2 separate regions of the Homo sapiens genome follow, and region 1 is linked to region 2. Evidence: promoter capture Hi-C in human tissues and cell types (Jung and others, 2019). All regions are on one chromosome and are shown on one strand. The core of a region is centred on a gene start or on the middle of the fragment in contact, and the rest is flanking DNA. Distances in the headings are between cores, read along the strand shown. Region 1 overlaps KREMEN1 (kringle containing transmembrane protein 1). Region 2 holds the start of EMID1 (EMI domain containing 1).

Evidence for each region. Contacts are between HindIII fragments. The study calls those that stand out against the background at their distance.
Region 1: a fragment that was not itself captured here is called in contact with the fragment with the promoter of EMID1 in region 2 in 2 of the 25 tissues and cell types used here (IMR-90 fibroblasts and heart right ventricle).

Annotation. Positions count from the first base shown.
Region 1 is chr22:29,106,059-29,112,786 of GRCh38, reverse strand. The region is part of intron 3 of KREMEN1 (kringle containing transmembrane protein 1); the gene reads right to left. Among named protein-coding and RNA genes, the nearest start is that of KREMEN1, 36 kb to the right of the region's middle. The HindIII fragment of the contact is 6,682 bases long and covers 1-5,620 here.
Region 2 is chr22:29,204,250-29,211,225 of GRCh38, reverse strand. It overlaps EMID1 (EMI domain containing 1), which reads right to left and starts at 5,330. Exons shown (of 15, transcript NM_133455.4): 1 at 5,087-5,330. The coding sequence starts at 5,187. LOC101929638 (a long non-coding RNA gene) reads left to right here and starts at 5,394. Exons shown (of 5, transcript XR_938134.3): 1 at 5,394-5,755; 2 at 5,905-6,066. RefSeq lists silencers at 4,896-4,955, 4,976-5,135, 5,146-5,235. The HindIII fragment of the contact is 14,358 bases long and covers 1-6,976 here.

The DNA of each region.
Region 1 (6,728 bases), core at 1,030-3,529, 95 kb after region 2:
TTCAAATTCCTTTTTCATTTCAAGCTTACTTTGAAATCCTTGTGGCTTGGTCATGCATTTTTCCTCTTACCAAAGAGGCTTCATCACTTTCAATTTTTAAAAAATTATCTTAACATACAAATGGACCCCTTGTTTATCTTAGCTGAGGCTTCAAAACTTGTGAAAATTAATTACAAATATTCAGATGTTGAAGATAAAAATTTTGGAGGAGTTAAAGAGAGAAGGTCCTCCATTCACATTAACCCAGGAACTATTGTTCTTTTACTATCATAAGAAACAACTGGGAAGCAATCAGGCAGGCCCACTAAACATTGTTACATTTGAATATAACTGTGGCTTCATTGTGAAGGTACTGCACACACCTCCATGGGGGCCTCCATGGCTGACAGCTGTTCTTTGAGAACCACCTATTACCCACAGCACCTTCTCAGAGCATCTGCTCCCATAACTACTGCTGGCTGGGGACAAGACAAAGGGCTCCATCCTCTGGCCACAGCTGCCTCACACTGGGGCCACCAGATTCTCTTTCTTAGGAAGCTGGAATTGGGATCCGCTCAGTGAATGCAAGCACTGAAATTGTAGGGATTTGTCAAGTAGGAGTTGAGGCAACCAAACTCAAGTTTGAGCCACGTGAGTGGATGAATGAGCCAATTCTGCTGGTCCACGAAGAGGAAGAAGGATGGATAACAAGCTGAGAGAGAGGCAGAGAAGGGAGATGAAGTGGCCACAGAGACAGATAGTGAAAGTCCCTGCTTTCTTTCTAGTTTCTTGGGATACAGGGTTTGGGTTCTGTGATACATCCCAATGGTCTTCAAATTGATTTCTTTTGCTCAAGTTAGCTTGAATGAGTTCTAGTCCTGGTAACCAAATCATTATCGAAGACAGAAGGCACGGCCATCATAGTAAAGGCTCAGTTTGAATCTAAATCTTCAGCTGGTAATTCACTAAGAAGCAGCCCTGACTATTATTATGTTTTCTATTCCACTGCTCTCACCAGATCTGGGATATTTGCTTTAAGAAACCAGATGCTAAGTTCTTGTCCTATGTCTTAAAAAACTAAAAAACTCTTTCCAAGGCTCTGCAGAGCTCCTTTTTTTTTTTTCCTAAGTAAAATCTGCTTCTTCAGAAATGATGTAACTCCTCTGCTAATTTTTTTTTTTTTTTTTTTTTTTTGAGACGGAGTCTCGCTCTGTCGCCCAGGCTGGAGTGCAGTGGCGCGATCTCAGCTCACTGCAAGCTCTGCCTCCCGGGTTCACGCCATTCTCCTGCCTCAGCCTCCCGCGTAGCTGGGACTACAGGCGCCCGCCACCACGCCCGGCTAATTTTTTGTATTTTTTTAGTAGAGACGGGGTTTCACTGTGTTAGCCAGGATGGTCTCGATCTCCTGACCTCATGATCCGCCCGCCTCGGCCTCCCAAAGTGCTGGGATTACAGGCGTGAGCCACCGCACCCGGCCTAATTTTTTTTTTTTTTTTTAATAGAGACAGGGTCTCACTCTGTTGCCCAGGCTGGAGTGCAGTGATACAATCATACTCACTGCAGTCTTGAACTCCTGAGCTCAAGTGATCTTCCCATCTCAGCCTCCCGAGTAGCTGGGACTACCAGTGTGTACTACCATGGCTGGCTAATTATTTGTGTATCTTGTAGAGATGGGGTCTCACTATGTTGCCCAGGCTTGTCTCAAACTTGTGGCCTCCAGTGATCCTCCTGCCTCAGCCTCCCAAAGTGCTTCTCTGCTGATTTTAAATGTCATTTAACTCTGTGTCAATACTATCTTCTGCCTCAAGGACCCCACACTGGTGCCTCAGTAGCTGATTTCTCCCCTCCATGGAAAGAAAAACTATGTACATCTGAGACGCTGCAGCTGGTATCCTACTTCTTTCAGAGCATCAACAGGTTAAGTGTGGATTCATCCACACCCTCAGACCCGTGACCGTAAGCTCACTGCACCCTGTGCTGTTCATCTGCAACTTCCGTTCCAAATCTGACAGCTGCCATCTTGGTCCAACCCCTTCTCATGATATGGCCCCACACTACCTCTGTAACTTTATTTCTAAACATAAACTTCCTTTTCAGTCACTCTGATTCTTCCAACAGTCTTAATTGTGCCCCCGAGTCTTACAGCAACACCCCCAAATAAATAAGTAAGCACAGCTTTTTCTTCCTCTGTGGAATTCTGCCCTTAGGGGGAGGTAGTAAGAGTTCCTAAAAATCCTGATCCCATAAGGCCAGGATCTATCACAGCAGTAGTTCCCTCCTGGTGGGAGTTCCTTCTCTGAAACTTAGTTTCTGGTGAGTTAATGTGATAAAGAGTCAAAAGAGGCTCTAGTAATTTCTCCCCTCCCTGTACATGTGTGTTGCTCCCACTTTAATAGATTTCCCCACTTCTTAAATCGGGCCTTGCCACTTGCTTTGATCCATAGAATGTGGTGGACTTCTTCTGAGTTCATGCCTTAAGAGGAATGGCAGCTTCTGCTGCTTCTCTCTTGGAAGCCAGCCACCGTATAAGAAGTCTGAATACCCTGCTGTTGAGAGAAGTCACTGGATAGAGGTCTGAAGCCACCTTGAATGCCAGCAGAGCTCCCAGTTGAATGCAGGCACCTCACTAAGCCCAGGTGACAGCAGCAGAAGAACCACTCAGCTGAAACTCAGTCGACCCAGAGAACTGGGAGAAATGATAAACTGTTGGCGCTTAAGTCACTGCGGCTGGGGATGGCTCATTACACAGCAATAAACAACTAGTACACATTACTTGGTAAAAGGTCAGTCCAAGTTCAAGAGGAATGATAACTGCTGTGTCCCTGGGAAGAAAAGCTCGTTTGTTGACTTGGACTTTTTTTTTCAGGGACACCACAAATATCCCAGGCAAGGAACCTCTTCCTGCTGTTTTATCCCTTACATATTCCACTTGTCAACAAGTTCTGTCTTCTTCCTAAGTGCATCTTGGACTTAATCCTTCCTGTCTTGTCTCACTGCTGCCATGATAGCCCAGGCCCTTATCCCTTGAGTTTAGAAATCTACACGCATCCTCTCTTCCCCAAACTTTCTTCCTTTGATCCGTCCTGTAAATGACACTGGACTTGCTTCTCTTCCTAAACTAGGGCTTTCAGCATATCAGTCCCATCTAATTAACTCTTGCTTTCCAGGTCTGACCTGGTTCCTTTTTGTCCACTCCTCTACTCAGGAAGCCTGGATCCCAACCCACACACTCATCAATTCTGTGCTTCCTCCAAGCCTCTGTCCTGCTGTTCCCTGACCCATTCAGCCACCAGCCACCTTTCTTCCAATTTCCACAATCTTTACTGAGTCCTCTTGTCTTCAGAAACTCACAACACTCTACCTCATAATTCAACACTTATTTATATGATTGGTGTGCTGGTCTGCAATTTTCTCTTAGGTTTATAACTCAGATTCCCAATTACATCATAAGATTGAGGGGCTATTTCTTCCTTATAGGCAAGTGCTGGTATAAAGATTTTCAGTAAAGTCATCCCTATCAATTTGAATGAGTTTTCCTTTTTAAGTCCCTAGTGTGCTTTACACAACTGTGCTTTAGAACATTTGTATCTGTGACTGAACTGATATCCATTTGGTTCAGAAAGTCTGTATTTTTTTAATGGAAAATTAAATAATACCCACTGGCAAAAACCAAAAAATAATTGAGTACATAAAACCTCATTGTAGGAACAAACATGGGAGCCAGGCAGAGTGGCTCACACCTGGAATCCTAGTACTTTGGGAGGCCGAGGTGGGAGGATTGCTTGAGCCCAGGAGTTTGAGACCAGCCTGGGCAACATAGCAAGACTCCATCTCTACAAAAAGTAAAAATATTTGCCAGGCATAGTAGTGTGCGCCTGTTGTCCCAGCTACTTGGGACACTGAGGTGGGAGGATCACTTGAGTCTGGGAGGTCAAGGCTGCAGTGATCCATGATCGTGCCACTGCACTCCAGCCTGGGCAACAGAGCAAGACCCTGTCACAAACAAACAACAAACAAACGTGGGGCCTCTTGTGTTCACCGAGTTCAGTGCTGCAACAGGCCACAGGGAGCAGCCACTGCAGCAGCTGATGCCTGCTCCTAAGACCCATGGTCAGTTAGATAAAAAAGAGATGGGCAGAAATAAAATGCAGGTTATGAATAACATATTCTAGGAATTAGATGACAGGGACATACTAACGGTAGTCCATTCCCTGGGGAGAGCATACCATCACAATACCTGTTGGTACTTTCATGTCTACCTGATATGTGCTAGGACTTAGGGCAGCATGCATTTTATTCATTTAATCTTCAAAAAAAACTCTGGAAGGCACCAATGAGGAAACCCAGGCACAACTGAGAGTCATTGTGCCTAAAGCTATTAAGCAGATAATGATTCAAACCTAACTGGGTGTGACTCAGATGTCCACATTCTTTCCATCTTTCCACCAGCTTGTGTTGTCTCTTATGGGAAGAGAGGAAGAGATAAGACTTCATGGCATCAAGAAAGAATTTTGTCTTTTGAGACAGGGTTTCACTCTCATCGCCCAGACTAAAGTGCAATGGCGCAATCTAGGCTTACCGCAACCTCCGCCTCCTGGGTTCAAGCGATTCTCCTGCCTTAGCCTCCCAAGTAGCTGGACTACAGGCTACATGCCCATCACACCTGGCTAATTTTTGTATTTTTGGTAGAGACAGGGTTTCACCACATTGCCCAGGCTGGCGTTGAACTCGTGGGCTCAAGCGATCTGCCCATCTTGGCCTCCCAAAGTGTTGGGATTACAGGCATGAGCCACCACACCCAGCCAAGAAAGAATACTTAGCAAGCACTTTTACACTCTCCACTGTGCTAGGTGTGGGGAAGATTGTTGAAATATATGGCTTTTTTCAGTGGCTACCAAGGAGAGGCTTAAAGAGGTAAAGCCTCCATAAATTCCATCAGCACTCTTCCACAAATAAAAGTACAATCAAGTAAAACAAGGGTGCCTGTGATGCGAGCTCAGCCTCAACCTCCTGAGCTCAAGCAATCCTCCTGAGTAGCTGGGACCATAGGCACATGCTACCATACCTGGTGAATTTTTAAGTTTTCTGTAAAGACAGGGTCTCCCTATGTTGCCCAGGCTAGTCTTGAACTCCTTGGCTCTAGCGATCCTCCCACCTTGGTCTCCCAAAGTGCTGGGATTATAAGCATGAGCCACCTCACCTGGCCTATTAATGTTCATTTCAATATTGCTTTGGCTATCAACAAAAGTTGGAATTTTCACTTTAGCTGTAAAGTATAAATGGTACACAGCCAAGTGTGGTGGCTCATGCCTGTAATCCCAGCACTTTGGGAAGCCGAGGCAGGCGAATCACAAGGTCAGGAGTTTGAGACCAGCCTGGCCAACATGGTGAACCCCGTCTCTACTAAAAATACAAAAATTAGCTGGGCACGGTTGTGGGCACCTGTAATCCAGCTACTTGGGAGGCTGAGGCAGGAGAATCTCTTGAAACCAGAAGGCAGAGGTTGCAGTGAGCTGAGATCACACCACTGCACTCCAGCCTGGGCAACAAGAGCAAAACTCTGTCTCAAAAAAAAAAAAAAAAAAAAAAGTATAAATGGTACACGGGGATGTGTCATTTCAGAGAAGGTGAATTTCAGCCCACAGCAGTGAAGACATGGTATTGGGGGAGAACCTAAGGCCCAGACAAAGCTGCTGACGAACTGTTTTGTGCAGTGGGTCCAACCCCAGGGGAGCCCTTTCCTCGCTGAGAACAGCTGGTCTGGGGACACCCACAGAGATAGCCCAGCATACTGCAGAGTGGCTCTGTTGGGCAGCAAATGCTTCCCAGATCCCATCTCAGCCTGCTTTACTCCTGGGGCTTAGGATTTCCCAAAGCCAAAGAAGAAAATAAAATGACTTAGAGCTAACAGCATGAACTGCAGACCCTCTGTCGCCACTGAGTTAACCCTTTGGTTTCCACAATGTCACAAAAGCAATCTTAATAATTCACCATACTATCAGAATTTCAAACTTTAATTCCCAAACAATTCACAAAGAAAATTCTGAAGAATGACCTCAACAGTAGCCGGAATCCATCCCAGAGCCCCTGTTTTCAAGGAAATAAAGGAAATGGGACTGTTCTCAAGTGCTAGAAGGAAAAGGCACTGGTCTAGCTATCAGGAGTCCTGGTCAAAAATCCTGTTTGACTCAGACTGTAATCCTCATCAAATCACTTAACTATCTGGGCTCAATTTTCTTATCTGAGAAATGGAGGCGGGAGAGTAGACATGCCACCTGCTTCATAGGATTGTTGAAAACGTTAAATAAGATAATGTGTTGGGAGGCCGAGGCGGGCGGATCACGAGGTCAGGAGATTGAGACCATCCTGGCTAACAAGGTGAAACCCCGTCTCTATTAAAAATACAAAAAAAAAAAAAAATTAGCTGGGCGTGATGGCGGGCGCCTGGAGTCCCAGCTACTCAGAAGGCTGAGGCAGGAGAATGGCGTGAACCCGGGAGGCGGAGCTTGCAGTCAGCCAAGATCACACCACTGCACTCCAGCCTGGGTGACAGAGTGAGACTCTGTCTCAAAAAGAAAAAAAAAAAAAAGATAATGTGAATATAAGTGCTTTTTGTACATAGTAGGTACTCAGCAATAGCTGAAACATACTAGAAAGCAGTGCTGACATTAAAACACAGAAAGTGCTGACAGAAACAAAACATTTTCTATAATTGAGAAACTGCCTTGACCACCACTGCCACAGTGCCC
Region 2 (6,976 bases), core at 4,081-6,580:
ACACTCATCGGCTCTGTCACATGGACATAGACAGACCAAAGCAGGCCCAGAGGGGCACACAGTCACAGTCAAACCTTCTCCCTGCAAATGCGTTCACACTTGCACACACACTGACACACCTGCACATGCACACACACACGCATGCCCTCTCGCATGGACGCATATAGGCTGAAGCTGTGATCTCTGGGCATGTCCACACACGGCCCCACAGTGCTCTCATTCATGTACATCCATGCACATGCAGGCACATGTGTACACACACACACACTTCTCACATGTACACAAACAGGTGAAGGCAGGCCCAGCAGGGTACTGTTGGCCATCTTCTCACACATATCTATACAGGCACGCACAGAGCCATCTGCCCTCACACACACACACGTGGACAACAGCCCTCACATGCCCAGCCCCCAGACTAGGCCGGGAGAGGTGGGCCTGTGATGGTCCACAATGGCCAGAGCTGTCCTTCTTTTTACCAGGGAGGAGCTAGAGAAAAAAAACAGTATTTTTCCTTCTTCTTCCTTAATTAAAATCTCTACCATTGGTGCTTGCCTGTAGTCACAGCTACTTGGGAGGCTGAGATGAGGATCGTTTCAGCTCAGGAGTTTGAGGCTGTAATGAGCTATATTCACGCCACTGCACTACAGCCTGGGCAATAGAGTGACACTTTGTCTCTTAAAAAAAATTGTTGGCCGGGCGCAGTGGCTCAAGCCTGTAATCGCAACACTTTGGGAGGCTGAGGCAGGTGGATCACCTGAGGTCGGGAGTTCGAGACCAGCCTGACCAACATGGAGAAACCCCATCTCTACTAAAAATACAAAATTAGCCAGGCATGGTGGTGCATGCCTGTAATACCAGGCAGGAGAATCGCTTAAACCCAGGAGGCAGAGATTGCGGTGAGCCAAGATCGCGCCATTGCACTCCAGCCTGGGCAACAGGAGCAAAACTCCGTCTCAAAAAAAAAAAAAAAAAAAATTTGCCATGTGGGTCCCTGCCTGGTTGCCATAATCTGGACTGTGCTTGAATCCTCTCCTTAGGAGACATGGAGCTGGTGGCCGGCTAGCCAGACCTTTTGGACAGGAGAGGACACTCATGCCATGTGGAGTTCAGGTTTAGTCCCTTGCCCCCTCCACCTGGGGATCACTAATAATTACCCCATCCCCCACCTTGAGGACCCCAGCCCCAGGACTCCTAGCATCAGCCCGAGCTCCTCCACAGGGTCCCAGCCTGGCCCTGCCACCCTCCTGCACCTCTATCCACCTTCCAGGGGTAGCAGGAGGCTCTTTCTAAAGTGCAGACCTAATGTTGCCACCACCCACTGTGGAGTCCGCAGCCCACCATGACTCCCTATAGCCCTGCAAGCGCTGCCCTTCACTTCTTATTCTGCTCACCTCTCCTGCACACTCATGCAGCCCCTCCTCCCACCTCTGATCTTAGCATATGAAGATCCCTCTGCCTGGAAAGCCCCTCCCTCTTGCTCCAGCCAACTCTTATTCATCCTTTGGGTCTCAGCCCTCAGGCCCAGGCAGGGGTTGGGCACCACCCATTAGCCACTCACAATAGCCCTGGGCTTTACTCACTCACGCAGGTGCTGGAGGAGGGCATGAGCTGGGACCAAGTTTGTGTAGGGCTCAGCCTGAGGACGCTCAGCGATGTTTGTTGAATGACTGAATGATGGAGAACAGGCAGCAGCTCCGGCCAGAGGAGCTGGGACCCGAGGTTTCCACAGATGAAGGGACCCATCCCCATGTGCTCCATCCCTGCAGCCCCTGGGGGCTTCCTTCCCTGGGGTGTGGTCATTGATAAGCTGCCCAAGAGCTGGATGAGGCTGGGCAGTGGGGTTGGTGAGGGCAGGGGCTGGGAAGAGGCGGCACTTCCCTCCTGGGCCCAACACTTCTGCCCACTCAGCACCTCCAGGCCCCCAGAGGCCTCCAGGAGGGGAGAAACAGGCCAGACCAGCTCAGCCTGGCACCGGCCACTCCCACAAAGGCCCCCCACCTACACCCACACTCCACCCCCTGCCACGAGGGGCCCAGGGGACTTTGTCTCTGTAGGGCCCAGGGCTGCGATCCGGAACAGTGATAGGGGCTAATTGCAGGAGGCAGCCAAGCGGGCCCGGGGCCAAGGGCTGTGATGAAAAGGAGAAGAAAGAAAGGACCGGGCGGGCAGGGGTGGTATGATGAGAGCCAGAGCCCCGCAGTAGGGGCGAAGTTCCAGTCCTGGCTCTGCTGCTTCCTACATCGGTGACCTTGGACAAGGCCCTGACCCTCTCTGGACCTCATTTTGTCCATCTGCAAATGGGGACAGCAGAATTTCCTCCAGCGGGGGAAGCTTCACTCAAATCCCTTAGCACAGCGCTAACAGCTATTGTTCATTCCTGTTCCGGGACTGAGGGGCTCAGGCCCAGACATGGGCCCCACACCCAGCAGCTTGGTCCAGGGGCTTCCCTGGGGATTGGGGACACCAGCACAGTACCTTCTTCACAAGGTCTTCCCCTTGGAATAGGGATTATCAGGTTCTGCATTTTACAGAGGGGGAAACAGGCTCCAAGAGAAAGCACCTACCCAGGTCACCCCTGTGGGCATCAGCTGGGATTGCAGCCCCCTAGACAGAGGCTGGGGCAGATCCCCTCCATTTTAGAGCCCTCCATTCTCCCTGATCCTAGGATTTGCCGGAAGGAAGCCGGTGCTGCAGGGGCGAGAGATCTGGGCTGGTGAAGGCTTGAACCCTCAGCTGAAACGCTGAGATGAGTGGTTAAAGGAAGCAGACTCCAGGCTTAGAAGGACCTCAGCGGGGCAGGAAGCAGCCCCAGGGGCAGGGGCAAGCCAAGGCAGCTCTGCATAGCCCTTGGGCACCCTGGTTCCGGGGGTCTCCAAGTGTCACCACCTTCCTGGGGCAAGGGGCGGCCCCCTGGATGCCTTCCCAGGCCACCCCCTCCCCAGGACAAAGCCTCTTTTCTGCGTCTGGTCCCTTGGCTGCCAAGGGGTGCCTGGGGTGCTGGGGTGTGGGTGGCAGGAAGGCTGACAGGGCATGACACCCCCATGCTGTCTCCAGCAACGTGGGGATGGGGCCACAAGTGGAGGTTCTGGTAGCCCACAGACTCCTCAAGCTCCAGGTCCCTACCCCCATGTGACATGATTGATAGCAGGAACCACTGCAGGTGAGGCCCGGTGCTGGTCCTTCCCACGAGGAAAGAAGGAAACTGAGAGCAAAACTGAGACCCATGGCCAGGAAGTGACCCACTTGAGGTCACACATCAAGCCTGTAAGAGCAAGGAATTCTGTCTCCATTCTGTCCAAGGCTGGAGCCCCTAACTCCTAATCATGACTGCAAACCTTTCCTGGTGCCCCCAAGCCGACAACCTCTTTCCCTCTTCCAGCAAGGCTGCTGGAGAGAAAAAGCCACTGGATTTGGAAATCGACTGGTCTGGACTGAGGTGCCACTTGTCCTCTGTAGGCCTCAGCCTCCGTATCTGTACAATGGGTGCAATAGTGTTGCCCACAGGGTTTTTGGGATGCTCAGGCTACTGTGATAGGCTTCTGTCAACACATGGAGTGACAGTCCCCAGTGACCACCAGATACCTGGTTATAGCCATCATCCTGTTCCCACCCAGGAGACCCTGGGAGGTGAGGAGCCCAGGCTGGGAAGCCCTGCCTTGAACTGGCTGCAGGGCGGTCTGGGCCTTAAGCTGTCGCCACCATCATCCTGAGCCTAACAGTGGGATTTCTGAGTTCATAGTCTCTGTCCTCTTAGCATCTGGGATCCTGGCGGCTCACTTCCATGCTCTGGGCAGGTCATGTTCCCTCTCTGAGCCTCATCTTCCTCCTCTATGAAACAGAATCATAAAGAGCATACCTCCAAGCAGCTGGGAGGATTCTGGAGCTGATGAATGCAGGTAACGGAGCCGACTCAGGCTAACTGTTGTCTGCACACAATAGGTGGTGGCTGTAACATCTGCCACACGTCCACCCCTGTCTCAGACAACTGCTCTTCTGGCCTCTGATGCTTCAACCACCTCCGTCCTCCAGCCCTGCCCATGTCAACTGCTCTTGCTAGCCCAGCAGGGGCATGCTGGCCCCTGACCACTGGGAAAGGAGAATTTCTGAAAAGAATTAAAGAATTGAGGCCGTAGGGGGTGGGGGCCGCGCAGGCCTTTGAATGGGATGAAAAGGCCTGGAGAGGCCTGGCTACTCCACATTGTCTGCCTTGGACAACGGCGGCTGGCCTTTAGGAGGGGACCCTCGCTGGGGCTGCAGCCAGGACAGAGGCCAGGACAGGTTCAAACACTGTCATCAAGGATAGAAGGGCAGATTTGCAACCTAGCTCTTCAGTGAATAGCCCATGAGGCTAAAAGATGATGCCAATTCCCTAGGGTCTCAGTTTGCTTAACCGTTGAATGGGGACAGTTTTCCCTACCTCATTCGGTCCTTCAAGGATTGATGAGGACACTATATATAATAATGGGCCCCACCATGTCAGGTTCTGGGAGCTCCTCCGTAAAGGCCAGCAGGGAGGAGGTTCCCCGCCGCTAGGAGAGCAGAAGGAAGACTGTGCTCCCTCTTTTCTCTGTCCAAAATGCCAGGTCCCTGGGGTATCTCCGACACTGACCCACTGGGCTGTGAGACTCCACCCCAGTCCCTCCTCCGAGGGAGATAAATAGCCTGGGTACAAAACAAACAAACAAAAAACAAAACAAAGCAAAAAAACAGGAACAGGGAAAAGGGGAGAGAGGGTCCGAGAAGAGTCGGCTAGGGGGTGTCATAGGCCTTTCCCAAGTGCAGGGGGAGGGGCCCTAGGGACAGGGGAACAGAAGGGCCAGGGCTTCGCCCTCGTTGCGCCCCTTCCCCCTCCTCTCGAGCTCCTGGGTTGAAAGGGAGGGAGTAGGGGAGGCAGCCAGCTCCGACACATGGAGTAGGGGACCCCGCACTCGCGGGAGCCTCAGCCGGACCGCGGGATGGCCGTGTCCCTGCCCTCACCCGGGCTGGGGACTGGATCGCCCTCCAATCCCAGCCCTTCCTGGAGGTGGGGGCGTGTGCGCGCCGGGACCCTCGGCCAGCGGGGTGCAAAGGCGCCGGGAGCTCTTACCTGCGTCCGGAGAACGGAGCTGCCCCGATGCTCCACGCAGCGCCGCCTCCCGGGAGCAGGAGCCCGAGGCAGAGCAGCGCCCAAGCCCGCGGGCCGCCCATGCTGCACCAGGCGCCCTCCGCGCGCGGCCCCTCGCGGTCGCCGCCCCCAGCCTGTCCTCCCCGCCTGCCTGCCCGCGCCGCCAGCCGCCCCGGACGCGCGGAGCCCGGTTTCCAGCTCCGCGGCCGGAGGGCGGGCAGGAGGCGGGCGGGCGGGGGCGGGGGCGCGCGCTCCCGGCCTCGCCCGGCCCCTCTGCGCTGCCCCCCGCCCCCTGCGCCGCCGCTGCCAACCCGGAAGGAGCCCGGAGGGGCCCGGGCGGCCAGGGCGCCCCCGCCAGGAGGCCCGCCAGGTGTCCACCTGAGCCCCACGCCCTGCGCCGCGGGGCCCTTTTGGGGGCGGGGTGCCAGCTCCGAGGTGTCCTCCCACGGGCTGTAGACTGGGAAACTGAGGCCCGGGCCACGGTCCCAGACGCAGCCGGGACCCGAACCCACCTCACCTGAGCGAATGATATCCGGGACTCATCCTTTTTCGACACCTTTGCGGGATCCAGCCCTCCAAGGAAAGCTTCCTGAGCAGTGCGCGCCACGTGTATTGGGCACCTCACCGCGGCCACTTCACATCCTATCTCAGGTGACTCTTCAAGCCACTCTGCTCGAACTGGGCACAATATCCCCATTTTACAGAAGAGAAAACTGAGGCCCAGGCACTCGCAGTCTCCCTAGGAGGAGATCTGGGCTGACCCCATAAGTGCAGAGTCTGTTCTTATTCTCATTTTACAGGTGGAGAAACTAAGCCACAGAAAGGAGCTGTCATTTACCTAAAGCACCGTGGCAGGGGTTTGGCAGAGCCAGGATTTGTACCCAGATCGCCTGACTTCGGAGAGTAACAGCTCTTAACCACAGCACTTCGGTCTATGCCTTGATTTCACCATATGTAACAAGGTAAGAATTGGTGTTGGGTGGTTTCATCTGGGGTACATGGATGGGCTTCTGGAGGAATGGCTCTACATCCCACAAAGGTATATGTAAGCGTAGTGTGTGTGTGCAGGGGTGCATGTGTGTGTCGTATGTGTGTATGATGGATGTGTGTGCATGCTTGATGTGGATTTATGTGCATGTGTGTTATGTGTGTGTCTGTGATAGGAGTGTGTGTTTATAGGGAGAGACCAGAGCTCTCATCAGAGGGGACCCAGACCCCCAATCTCCCAGGGCAGTCTCTAACCCCGCCTTCTGCCTGGATCGATGGGCAGTAGTTAGGCCTGGGCTGGGGAAGCCCTTGCCCAGCTTGGCTACTTCCTGTTATGGCTTGTCCAGACCCACGGTCCCTTCTAGAAACACTCCCCAGAAAGGATCTGCCAGTCACTGGATTGCCCCTCCTGGACTCACCAGGGGCAGGCAGCATAGGCCACCATAGGCAGGCAGGCAGGCAGGACGGGGGATCCATCACCAGTGTGTCCACATAGAGAAAGCTGTTGCCCTGTCCCAAGGGACAGGTAGTGAGAGCTGGGTTCAAACCCTGCCTCTGCTACTTCTGCTCCAGTTAGCTCAGGCAAGTCTTGCCCCTCTCGCAGCCTCAGTGTTTCTTTTGCAGGGAGGACAGTTGTACATTCGTTACAGGAGTGTGGGAAGGATTGAGATATCATGGTAATGGCCTGTCACCCACTCTCCCCTACTTCACATAGTCCCCCAAGGGCTCCCTCTCCCTCCAGCGACATCACCATGGTGCCAATGTTGCCCCCTTGGGGAGCTGTTGCCCTCCTTTTCACGTGAAATTTTGGCACATCTCCTGTGCCATCTCTCTGACCTCCAAGAAATGCAGCTTTGTACCTCTCTGGTTAGCCCTTGTTTTTGA